2 separate regions of the Homo sapiens genome follow, and region 2 is linked to region 1. Evidence: promoter capture Hi-C in 16 types of primary human blood cells and fetal thymus (Javierre and others, 2016). All regions are on one chromosome and are shown on one strand. Each heading gives the region's core, a stretch centred on a gene start or on the middle of the fragment in contact. The rest is flanking DNA. Distances are from core to core; before and after follow the strand shown.

What was found. Contacts are between HindIII fragments. The CHiCAGO score rates a contact against its expected background, and 5 or more counts as called.
Region 2: a contact is called between a fragment that was not itself captured here and the fragment with the promoter of SPESP1 in region 1, in 1 of 17 cell types (M2 macrophages). The highest score is 7.4, in M2 macrophages.

The regions. Positions count from the first base shown.
Region 1 is chr15:68,928,108-68,934,240 of GRCh38, forward strand. SPESP1 (sperm equatorial segment protein 1) reads left to right here and starts at 2,418. Exons shown (of 2, transcript NM_145658.4): 1 at 2,418-2,610. The coding sequence starts at 2,547. It overlaps SPESP1-NOX5 (SPESP1-NOX5 readthrough), which reads left to right and starts at 2,418. Exons shown (of 17, transcript NR_033672.2): 1 at 2,418-2,610. The HindIII fragment of the contact is 10,282 bases long and covers 1-5,157 here.
Region 2 is chr15:68,519,983-68,526,220 of GRCh38, forward strand. It overlaps a transcript of CORO2B not described here. Among named protein-coding and RNA genes, the nearest start is that of CORO2B, 56 kb to the right of the region's middle. The HindIII fragment of the contact is 6,311 bases long and covers 1,385-6,238 here.

The sequences.
Region 1 (6,133 bases), core at 1,168-3,667:
CACTCACCTGATTGTTGTCAGGCCTCAGGTCCTTACTGGCTGTTGGCTGGAGACATTGGTTCCTCAACATGTGTCCGGAATTGGTGGGTTCTTGGTCTAACTTAAAGAATGAAGCCGTGGATCCTCGTGGTGAGTGTCACAGTTCTTAAAGGCAGCATGTCCGGAATTTGTTCCTTCTGATGTTCGGATGTGTTTGGAGTTTCTTCCTTCTGGTGGATTCGTGGTCTAGCTGGACCAGGAGTGAAGCTGTAGACCCTCATGGTGAGTGTTACAGCTCTTATGGTGGCCCATCTGAGTTGTTCATTCATCCCGGTGGGTTCGTGGTCTCACTGGCTTCAGGAGTGAAGCGGCAGACCTTCGCAGCGAGTGTTACAGCTTATAAAGGCAGTGTGGGCCCAGAGTAAACAGCAGCAAGAGTTATTGCAAAAAGCGAAAGAACAAACCTTCCACACGACAGAAAGAGACTCCATAGGGTTACTACTGCTGGCTCGGGCAGCCTGCTTTTATTCCCTTATCTGGCCCCACCCACATCCTGCTGATTGGTTCACTTTACAGAGAGCTGATTGGTCCGTTTTGACAGGGTGCTGATTGGTGCATTTACAATCCCTGAGCTAGACACAAAAGTTCTCCAAGTCCCCACTAGATTAGCTAGACACGGGGTGCTGATTGGTGCATTTACAAACCTTGAGCTAGACACAGAGTGCCCATTGGTGCATTCACAATCCCTTAGCTAGACATAAAGGTTCTCCAAGTCCCCACCAGACTCAGGAGCCCAGCTGGCTTCACCCAGTGGATCCCACACCCAGGCGCAGGTGGAGCTGCCTGCCAGTCCCCGGCCCTGCGCCCGCACTCCTCAGCCCTTGGGCGGTCGATGGGACTGGGCGCCGTGGAGCAGGGAGCGGCGCTCCTCAGGGAGGCTCAGGCATGGCAGGCTGCAGGTCCCGAGCCCTGCCCTGCGGGGAGGCAGCTAAGGCCTGGCGAGAAATCGAGCACAGCAGCTCCTGGCCCAGGTGCTAAGCTCCCCCCAACTGCCCGTGGCCAGCGGGGACGGCCGGCCGCGCTGAGTGCCGGGCCCACCGAGCCCGCCGAGCCCACGCCCACCCGGAACTCGGGCTGGCCCGCAAGCGCCGTGCGCAGTCTCAGTTTCCGCCGGCGCCTCTAGTCTTGCTTCCCTCCAGTCCATTCTTCATGCTACAGGAAGAGTGAGTTTTCTGGAATACAAATCTAATCACAACCGTTCCCAGCTCAAAACCTAGCAGTACTCTAGTACTGGTGCCTCAGACTAAAATCCAAGCCCCTTGCTTCCTGAGGCAGAGATGAGTGTACGTGAATTTTTAAAAATAACCATACAGAAAAACAGATTCTTTGGGATGTGCAGTTCTGCGAATTTTTATTTTTATTTATTTTTTTGAGGTGGAGTCTTGCTCTGTCGCCCAGGCTGGAGTGCAGTGGCACGATCTCGGCTCACTGCAACCTCTGCTTCCCGGGTTCAAGTGATTCTCCTGCCTCAGTCTCCCAAGTAGCTGGGACTACAGGCGTGTGCCACCACCCACGCCTGGCTAATTTTGTATTTTTAGTAGCCACGAAGTTTCACTATGTTGGTCAGGCTGGTCTCGAACTCCTGACCTCAGGTGGTCCGCCCACCTCGGCCTCCCAAAGTGCTGGGATTACAGGAGTGAGCCACCGTGCCCGGCCTTCTGTGAATTTTAACACATGTATAGATTCTTGTGGCCACTGCCATCTATTAGTCCCCAAAACAACCTCATGCTATCCTTTCATAGTCGTACTCTCCCTCATCCCTACCCCTATCTTTTTAAGAAGGTCAAAGAAATGGAATGTGATCTTTTGAAAAACAAAAACACCCAAGCCCCTTAGGGCGTTTTTAATGCCCTTGCCTACCTCTCCTCCCTGTCCTCCAACAACTGCCCTCCCAAGCCCCACAATGCAACTCGCCGGAACTATGCTCAGTTCTTGGGGTGCTCCAAGCTGTCCTCCACTTAGCCAAGCTCCCCACCCGCTTCCGGGGGTGGGTTTCCACTGTGCACAACAGTACCTAGCGCTTCCCCCACTACAGCCCCCTTTCACGCTGTGGTAATTGCCAGGTTATCTGCCTCTCCCATTACAGTTCCTTCCTCACAGGGACCGCGTTTAAACCACGGCGGTATCCCTACCGCGCAGGATGGGCCGAGCCCCGCACGCCCCGAGGCAGCACCCCGCACGCAGTAGCCGGGCGTCGAGGCGTTCCCAGCCCACACCAGGCGCGGACCTACGAAGGCGGAGCGAGCATGCGCACTAGGAAGGGGCGGGGCGGGGCGCGCGCGATCCCCCGCCCCCTGCACGCGGTCCCAGGAGGGGCGGGCCTTGGCCGCTCGCTCTCCCCTCCCCCATGCCGCTGCGCTTGCGCGCTGGGGACAACCGTTGCTGGGTGTCCCAGGGCCTGAGGCAGGACGGTACTCCGCTGACACCTTCCCTTTCGGCCTTGAGGTTCCCAGCCTGGTGGCCCCAGGACGTTCCGGTCGCATGGCAGAGTGCTACGGACGACGCCTATGAAGCCCTTAGTCCTTCTAGTTGCGCTTTTGCTATGGCCTTCGTCTGTGCCGGCTTATCCGAGTGAGTGACGGGCCTGAGGAGGCAGCGGACCGGGGACACCCTGGGGGAACTTCCCGAGCTCCGCGACCTCGAAGCCTGGCCCTTCCTTCTCCCTGGTCCTACATGCCTCCCTCCCCCACTGTCCGGGGTCCTGGCCTCGACGCCGAGGGGTGTCCCTCTCCTCTCCTGGTCAGGGAACGCAGCAACTGAGGCGGCGCGGCCCAGATGAGACGGGAAGCGCCTGCGGGCCGTGGGCGCGGGTGGAACCCCCTCACCTCACCGGAGGCCTTCCTCTGCCCACCCGATCCTTCCCCAGCCATTGGGCGTGTGACCGTGCAGGGGTCGTGTGACAGCTGCTGGCCAGCTAGGAATGATTTTTACATTTTCTTCCTTTTTTTTTAATTATTATACTTTAAGTTCTAGGGTACATGTGCACAGCGTGCAGGTTTGTTACATATGTATCCATGTGCCATATTGGTGTGCTGCACCCATAACTTGTCATTTACATTAGGTATATCTCCTAATGCTATCCCTCCCCCCTCCCCCCACCCCACGGCAGGCCCTGGTGTGTGATGTTCTATTTTTGCATTTTCAAAGTAAATATGAAATGTACTCTTTCATGACTTGTGGAAAAGCATGACGCTCACATTTCATTGTTCGTGAATAAAGTTTTACTGGCACACCACCACGCTCATTCCTTTACGTATTGCCCATGGCTGCTTTCCCACGTTAGAACAACGGGGTTAAGTGGTTGCCACACAGTCTGGTCTGCAAAGACTGAAGTATTTACTCTCTGGCCCTGTACAGAAAAAAAGGTTGACCCGTACGGTAAAATTTGGAGAGCATGTGGATTGTGGGTCGCGGTCTGGGACACTCACCTGAGGATGCGCTCCCAGAGAGCATGCTTGCGCACACGGCATTCAAAGCCTTAGTTAAGCAGGATTATAACTTAAGACCTGCCAAGGAGCAATTTTTGTCCCTCCCCGAAAGCTGAAAACCAATAAGGTCAAATTCAGGGGTGCTAAGACTTTACTATATTAACAATATCATGTGGGCACCTTAAGGCACTTAGTATTTAAGTCAGGTAGGTGAGGCTTCCCCATTTAGTCTAACTGTAGTTCATTGTGGCATTTAGTAATGTTGGAGTTTGGTTTCACTTAAATCAATAAATACAATTTAACAGGTGTAAAAAAAGCGCTATCGTGCATGCTGATTATGCAAATCTATTTTTCAGAATTGCTAAACGATCTTAGTTAAAAATCAAATTTAAAAACTGAAAATACAACACAATCTAAATTATGAATAGTAATGGGAAAAGTTCTAGATGAAGTTCTAGGTAACTAAAGTTAGCTCTTTAAATACTAGCATTTATGATTTGTAGCTGTTTTTAATAAAAAGTTTTGTAAAATTTTTCTTCCTTGACATAGAGGACCAGAACATAATGAAGATGCTACTATCTTTTCTTGATGTCTGATGATCATTATTACTAACACCAGTTATTGCATTTTGGTAGTTGTAGATCAGCAAGTCACAAGTGACTAACATATATGGAGACTTTAACTGAAGTGACTTTAACACTGTCACACAGTACACTCTGGGACTGCTAGGTAGGAGTCCCTGGACACCCACTTAACTCAGTGCAGTCTCTTGCCTAACACCATAATTTTCCCCTCCCCCTCCCCTTCCCTTTTCCCCCCCTTTTTTTTTTGCCTGAGACAGGGTCTCACTCTCTAGCTCAGACTAGAGTGCAGTGGCCCGATCTCGGCTCACCGCAACCTCTGCCTCCCAGGCTCGAGGGATTCTCCCACCTCAGCCTCCTGAGTAGCTGGGATTATAGGCGCACGCCACTACCGCCTGGCTAATTTTTGTATTTCTAGTAGAGACGGGGTTTCACCATGTTGGCCAGGCTGGTCTCGAGCTCCTGACCTCAAATGATCCATCCGCCTCGGCCTTGCAAAGTGCTGGGATTACAGGCTTGAGCCACTGTGCCCAGCCAGCCTGTTGTCTTTCTTAGCACCCTATTCCCTAATCTTTCTTGGGAAGAAAGAAAAGGGTTGTAGGAAATGAAAAGACGCTTCCCAGAAAAAAGGAGTGATTTTGTGTTGAATATATAGATGTTATAAGACATAAGGAAACTATATACAGGTTGTAATCATAGAAGATGTCTTGGAATATGTAATTACCTTTCTTCTACAGAAGTGGATTAAGGAATATATAGAGCAGGCAGTGGTACATGGCTGCTTTCTCTGTATCTGTCTCTCTACTTTTTCTCTAATTTTAATTTTGTTTTTAAAATAAGTATACCAAAATGCGTATATCATTGAGCTTGATGTAAATCAGCTATGCATTCTTTTATATGGCCACTATTCAAACAATTGTTGGCGAGATGCAAAAGATAAGGTACATAGGTTTTTATAATGAAAAGTGCAGCTTTGACACATTTTTTCTAGACTACTAGACAGTTTTGAGGTTATTACGCAAACATCACGGGTGTATTAAGTAATTGCATTTATTGAAAACCTCAGTACTTCTTGTATCTGCCTATACCTTTCTAACAGGCCCAATCCAAGCTTAGCTAGTATTTGTTTAATCTAAATTCAGTTAGACATAAATGCAGCTTGGGTATACAGAAGTCGGCACTCCTTTACATACACACACACACATCCTGATGGTGCTGGAGAAACAACGTTTTACTATATAAAATTTTTATACATTCAGTTTCCTCTACCTGATTTTTCCATAGTTTTAAATACTTTGCCATTTTTAAATTTTTGAATGGGAAAGTATTTAATGTATTCCCTCTTTAATGTATTTGCACTGTGCAACTTACTTTACTTTTTAATGAGAATTCTTTTTGCTTTAAAAAAAAAAAAATGCACAGGCCGGGCACGGTGTCTTACACCTGTAATCCCAGCACTTTGGGAGGCTGAGGCGGGCAGATCACCTGAGCCCAGAAATTCAAGACCAGGCTGGGCAACATGGCGAAACCCCGTCTTTACAAAAAATACAAAAATTAGCCAGATGTGGTGGGGCAGGCCTGTAGTCCCAGCTATTCGGGAGGCTGAGGTGGGAGGATCACCTGAGCCCAGGAGGTAGAGGTTGCAGTGAGCTGAGATGGCGCCACTGCATTCCAGCCTGGCTGACAGAGTGAGACCTTGTCTCAAAAAAAAAAAAAAGCACAGTAACTTCTAAAGTAATATTAACATAATAGTTACATATTTAAATAATATCAACTACTATTAAAATTATATAATTGGCCTTTTTAAATTTTAAGTCATCAAATATTCATGGGCTGGCAGTGCAAACTAATTAAAATTAAAGTGTGTTAATATTAATTTAATATTAATATATGTTAATTTTTAAATGATTCAAACTTTGCATAATAAGTATAAATAAAATTAAAATATTAATTTTGGGGTATCTCCCAAATAAATTATTTCCTCTAGATCATCTCTTGGTATAGACTAGGAAAAATAGGGTTAGTCTAGGATTACAAAAGCTCTTATTTCTAGATTGGTATTATAAGAAGGCTCAATGTATCAGT
Region 2 (6,238 bases), core at 3,290-5,789, 410 kb before region 1:
ATTCAATCCAAACTATTTTCTCATTTCTGTTGTGATTTTTTAAATCTATGTATTATATGAAGCATGATGCTTTATTTTCAATCATCTAGTAATTTTCTTGTTATTCTTTCATTATCGATTCCTAGATTTAGTCCACTGTGGTCAAAAAACAAACTTTGAATCATTTCTGCCATTTGAAATGTGTTGAAATCTGCTTTATGGGCTAGCATGTGATCAATGTTGATAAATGTTCCATGTACACTTGAATGCGTTTTCTATGGATGTTAGGGACAGCATAGCTTCTGTGTATGCAATTAGGTGAATTTTCCTAGTTACATTGTTCAGATCTATATCCTTACAGATTTTTTTGTTGTTGCTTGTTCCATCAGTTACTGAAAGAGGTATATTATAGTCTCCCCTTAAAATAGTGATTTTTGTTTATTTCTCCTGTTAATTTTTGCTCCGTGTAATTTGAAGCTATGGCGTTAAATACATAAAAATTTGGAAAAGTTGTATCTTCCTGATGGACTAGCACTTTTATCATTATGAAATGTCTCTCTTAAATGCTTAGAAATGCTTCTTGCCTTAAACTCTACTTTCTCTTGGTTACAGTTCACAGGGTATATTTTTCTATCCGTTTACTTTCAGCTTCACTATGCCCTCATCTTAGGTTGAACTATAAGAAACTGCTATTTTTATAAGTCAAATATGGTTGACTATCGGCACATTAATGTGGTTCAGCTTAATATTTAAGGACCCTTGTAAACAGCATAGCATTTAAAAATCCAGTCTTAAAAGCTTTGGCCGGGTGCAGTAGCTCATGCTTGTAATCCCAGCACTTTGGGAGGCCGAGGCGGGTGGATCACCTGAGGTCAGGAGTTTGAGACTAGCCTGGCCAACATGGCAAAACCCCATCTCCACTGAAAAAAATACAAAAATTAGCCAGCCATGATGGCGTGCACCTGTAATCCCAGCTACTTGGGAGGCTGAAGCAGGAGAATCACTTGAACCTGGGAGGTGGAGGTTGAAGTGAGCCAAGATCATGCCACTGCACTCTAGCCTGGGTGACAGAGCAAGGCTCCATCTCAAAAAAAAAAAAGTTTTGTCTTTTAAATGAAGTATTTAATTCATTTACATTTAATTGGAGTATTTAGTTCTTTGGTTGATAAGTTTGGTTTTACATCTACCATCTTTACTATTTGTTTTCTATTTTTCCTAGACCTGTTTTATGTTCCCTTTTCTTGCATTCTTTTGAATTAATAAGCTATTTTTCATTATTCCATCTCCCCCATTAGCTTGTCAGTTTTACATTCTGTTACTATTATTTTAGAGATTGCCATAGATTACTTAACTTTTTAGAATCTAATATAAAGTAGTACTTTTGTAAATTCTGGACAGTGCCACAAGCTTGGTACATTTTAACTCATTCCCCTACTTTTTGTGTTATTATTGTCTACATTTTAGTTCTATATATATTTTGAATGTCACATTACATTATTTTCTTGTAAAGTCAATGTTTATTTAGATGTACCCACATATTCACCCTTTCCGTTGTTCTTCATTCCTTCTTACATTTCCTTTTTTGCCATCTGGGGTCATTTTACTCTTGCCTGTCTAGAAATAACTTTATTTCGCATACACTTTGAAAGTTTTTACACTGGCTATAGAATCCTAGATTGTCAATTATTTTTATTTTATAAATTTGAAGATATCATTCCATTGTCTTCTGGCTTTCATCTTTTTATTGTGCTTTTGAAGGTATGTGTCTTTTCACTATATACTTCTTTTCTTTTCTTTTTTGTTTTTTTTTTTCTTTCTCACTTTATCACCCAGGCTGGAGTGCAGCAGTGGCTCACTGCAGCCTCGACCTCCCAGGCTCAAGCAAGTAGATGGGTTAGGAATTTGAGACTAGCCTGGCCAACATGGCAAAACCCCGTCTCCAATGAAAAAAATACGAAAGCCTCTCAAGTAGATGAGACTACAGACCAGGCATGTGCCACCACACCCGGCTAATTTGTAAAATTTTTTGTAGAGACAAGGTCTCCCTATGTTGCCCAGGCTGGTCTTTAACTCCTGAACTCAAGCAATCCTCCCACCTCAGTCTCCCAAAGTGCTGGGATTGCAGGCGTGACCCACCATGCCTGGCCCCATGGACTCCTTTAAAGAATATTCTCTTTACCTGTAATTTTCAAAGATTCACAATGATGTTTCTAGATGTCATTTTCTTTCTTGCTTGGACTTTGTAGTACTCTTGAATCTCTAGCTTGATGTCTTGGCATTGTTGGAAAATTCTTAGTCATTATTTCCATATCTCTTTAAATACCACTTCTTCTCCATTCTTCTCTCTTTCTCGTCTGAGACTCCAATTGTGTTAATATTCAAACTCTCCACCATGTCTCATATATCTCTTATATGCTCTTTAAGCACAACTTAACTAATCCTCTTCAGCTGTGCCAATCTATTGTTGAGCCATCTATTGAATTCTTTTTCTTTCTTTCTTTTTTTTGAGATGGAGTCTCGCTCTGTCATCCAGGCTGGAGTGCAGTGGCACAGTCTCAGCTCACTGCAACCTCTGCCTCCTGGGTTCAAGCGATTCTCCTGCCTCAGCCTCCTGAGTAGCTGGGATTACAGGTGCGTGCCACCATGCCTGGCTAATTTTTGTATTTTTAGTAGAGACGGGGTTTCACCATGATGGTCAGACTGGTTTCATCAATTATATTCCTTTTCAGTTTTGGAATTTGCTTGATTTTTAAAAATAGATTGTTGTTCTCAAGCAAAATTCTTCATCTTGTTATATCTTTTTATGAGCATATTAATCACAGTTGTTTTAGTGTCCAATAACCCTAATATGTAAGTCACATATGGGTTTATTTTTCCTGCGTGTTTTTCTTGCCTGTTTTTTCTCTTGGTCTTGTAACTTGGAATACTTACTATTTTTTATTGAATACTGGAGAGTTTATATTAAAACATGTGGAGACTTTGGATGATAACATCTTCTTCTATAGAGGGTTCATTCTATTCTCTGGCATGCAGTTAGAGTAGGGGCTGTTTGTTTACCTCCATTCAATCAAGGGCTGAACTGACTTGAAGTTGGTTTTAGTCTTTACAAATTTGTTCTTTCTCTTGTCATTTTTCCTCCAAGAGTATAGCCATCCAGGTCCAGGGGTATTTCTTGGGTCGGCCACTCATTCTTAGAAAATCCTAAATTCTTTCTTTTTCTTTTCTTTCTTTTTTCTTTTTTCTTTTTGAGACAGGGTCTCACTCTGTCACTCAGGCTGGATGGAGTGGAATGGCATAATCATGGCTCACTGCAGCCTCAACCTCCCAGGCTCAATGTGATCCTCCCACCTCAGCTTCCTAAGTAGCTAGGACCACAGGCACACGACTCCATGCCTAACTAATTTCTTAATTTTTTGTAGAGATGGGGGTCTCCCTATGTCGCCCAGGCTGGTCTTGAACTCCTGGGCTTAAGCAATCCTCCCTCCTCAGCCTCCCAAAGTGCTGGGACTATAGGCATGAGCCACTGTACCCAGCCCTAAATTCCAATTTTTGTCTCCCAGAGACCATGAAAGGTTTCCCAACTACCTTTTGTTTAGTTTCTTAGCTTCTCACCCTGCACAGCCAAGAATTGACAAATACCTCAAGTGGAAAAATGCTAACTGTCAGGTTTAGTTTTCTGTGCCTCCATTGTCTCTTGGACCTTGGCTCCTCAAGTCAGCTGCCTTGGGAGCCTAGAACTGTCCTTTTTTGTTCCTCTGCTCTATCAGATAGCCTAAAGCTCTGCTGGCTTCTCTGCTTCTTTGTGGGTAAACCCTACCAGGCCCTGCAGCCTCCCATATCCCAAGGGGAAAAGTGATGACCAGATATTGAGATCTTTCAAAGAACTTCCTTTTTTTTCTCCAAAATCTTGGCCCCTTAAATAGTGGTTGCCTTGGGTGTCCTACAATTCTTCAAAGATATTTTTAAAAATATTTTTTTCCAAGGCTGGCCTCAGTGGCTCATGCTTACAATCCAAGCACTTTGGGAGGCAAAGGTGGGAGGATTGCTTGAGCCCAGGAGTTCAAGACCAGGCTGGGCAACATAGTGAGACCTCATTTTTATAAAAAATTAAAAAATTAGCTGAGTGTGGTGGTGCATGCTTGCAGTCCCAACTACTTGGGAGGCTGAGATGAGAGGACCGCTTGAGCCCAGGAGGTGGCAGTGAACCATAATTGCACCACTGCACTCCAGCCTGGGCAACAGAGCAAAACCCTGTCTCAAAAAAAAAGAAAAGAAAAAATTCCAGCTTTTTAAGTTTATTTCACTAGAAACTTTGGTCTGACACAAGTTACTTTATTGTAACCAGAAGTAAAAGTATGACTCTTGTAGCTTTTAAAATCTTGTTTTAATGATATTAATATTAATAAAAATCTATTGTTTTCCCTAATCCCTTTTTGCTGTTCTATGAGGAAATAACTAAATCATAAATTCTTTCATGCACTTTTTGCTGAGATAAGATGGGCTTATCTCCCCAATCATACTCTAATAAATGAACTTCACCATTTTATTGCATGTACCTTTTTAAAAGCGCCATGCTAAGCATTCCCTTCTTTGAACCCTGCCTTGATACTGTGGAGAAAGTAGGGATATTTTTTCCATTTTGCAAATGAAGACATTGAAGCTCATAAAAATTTCTTTAACCAAGAAGTTAAATAAATTCTTCTAAGGCCGGTAATTAGGTAGAGGAGGCCTAACTAAAATTTAGCTCTTCCAGCTCAAAGTCTAGTCACCATTTATGCTTCTTTTCTGTTGGAGGCTCCCTGAAGCCAGAACATTTTCCTGAACACTCCACGGGACTCACTAAAGGTCTAAATACACAGTAGATGCTCTGGTATTACTTGCCGAATTGATTTATATTATGTTGCAGCAGCTGATCAGAGGCAGAGGCTCCCAGCCTGAGCCTAGCCCTTAACTGTTGCATCAGATTTTATTTAAAAAGGAACAGAGAATAATAAATTAAATTCTGGTGCCAAAAGGAACCCACAGGAATTTATGAGAAATACAACATAAATTCACTAAAACTCCTACTCAGTATTTATTCCTCTCTGTCTTATATTTAGGCACATCTGGGTATAACTAAATCAGCCAAATCTGCCACTCTCAGACAGGCAGCTTAACCCTCCTCCCATTCCCCCTAAAAAACCCCAAAAACAAAAATAAAGCAAACTGACATCATATAACAGTTAATGGGGCTTATTATGGTCTAAAATGACAGGCATGTAAATTGAAGCCAGTTCTGAAATAAGTCACTCAAAATTCAGGGGGGACGGGGGACAGATACAAACTTCATTTTCAAAGTAAATTCTGAAGCATTTTGAAAAGAAAAGAAGAGCTTTCTGTGAAACATTGCTGGAAAAGTCAGGAAGGACTACAGATGTTTTGAAGCAAATTACTAGTGAGTCTGTCAGAATTTGGAAAAGGACAGTTTCCCCTTATTCTGGGTCATGGGAGGACTCAAGAAGGCTTTGTAAGTTACCCAGCTGAAGCTAACTCGATTCTTGACAGAGCCTTTTGCAGGGTTTAGTGAAAATATTTTTCATTTGTTAAAAAGTAGAAATGTAATTTCTGTTACTTGCTCACTCAATCAAAATCTCCAGACTCTTGTCTCAAATTCAGCCTAATTCATATCTATCCCCAGAACAGAAACCAAAACCCCCAAAATGGGTCAAAATTATCAACTTTGTTTACAAAATAAGCTGCTGGGCAGAGAGTCAAACTGGGCTTGCTGGATTTTTTTAAAATAATTTTAATCAACTTTATTTACTTTATTAAATTATAACGTGTTAAAATGCACCAACTTAAAGCTGACAGTGCGATGAGTTTTTACAAATGTATACATTCATGTACAACATCAAAATCAAGATATAAAACACTTCTTCTGCCCAAAAAGTTTGCATATGTTGTGTCCCAATCAATCACTCTTACAACCAGCTTAAGGCAACCACTGATCAGCTTTTTGTCACTGGAACACAGATTTGTTATTTCTGGAGTTTCTAGAGTTTCAAATGAATGAAGTCATAAGTATGTACTCTTTCACACCCGGCTTCTCTCATTCAGCGTAATTATTCTGAGACTTATCCATGTGGTTTCATGTATCAATAGTCATTTTTTATGGTTGAGCATGATTCCATTATATGCATGTACCACAATTTATTTATCCACTCACCAGTTTATGCATGTACATTTTGGTTGGTTTTCGTTTTTGGTTTTTATTAAGATG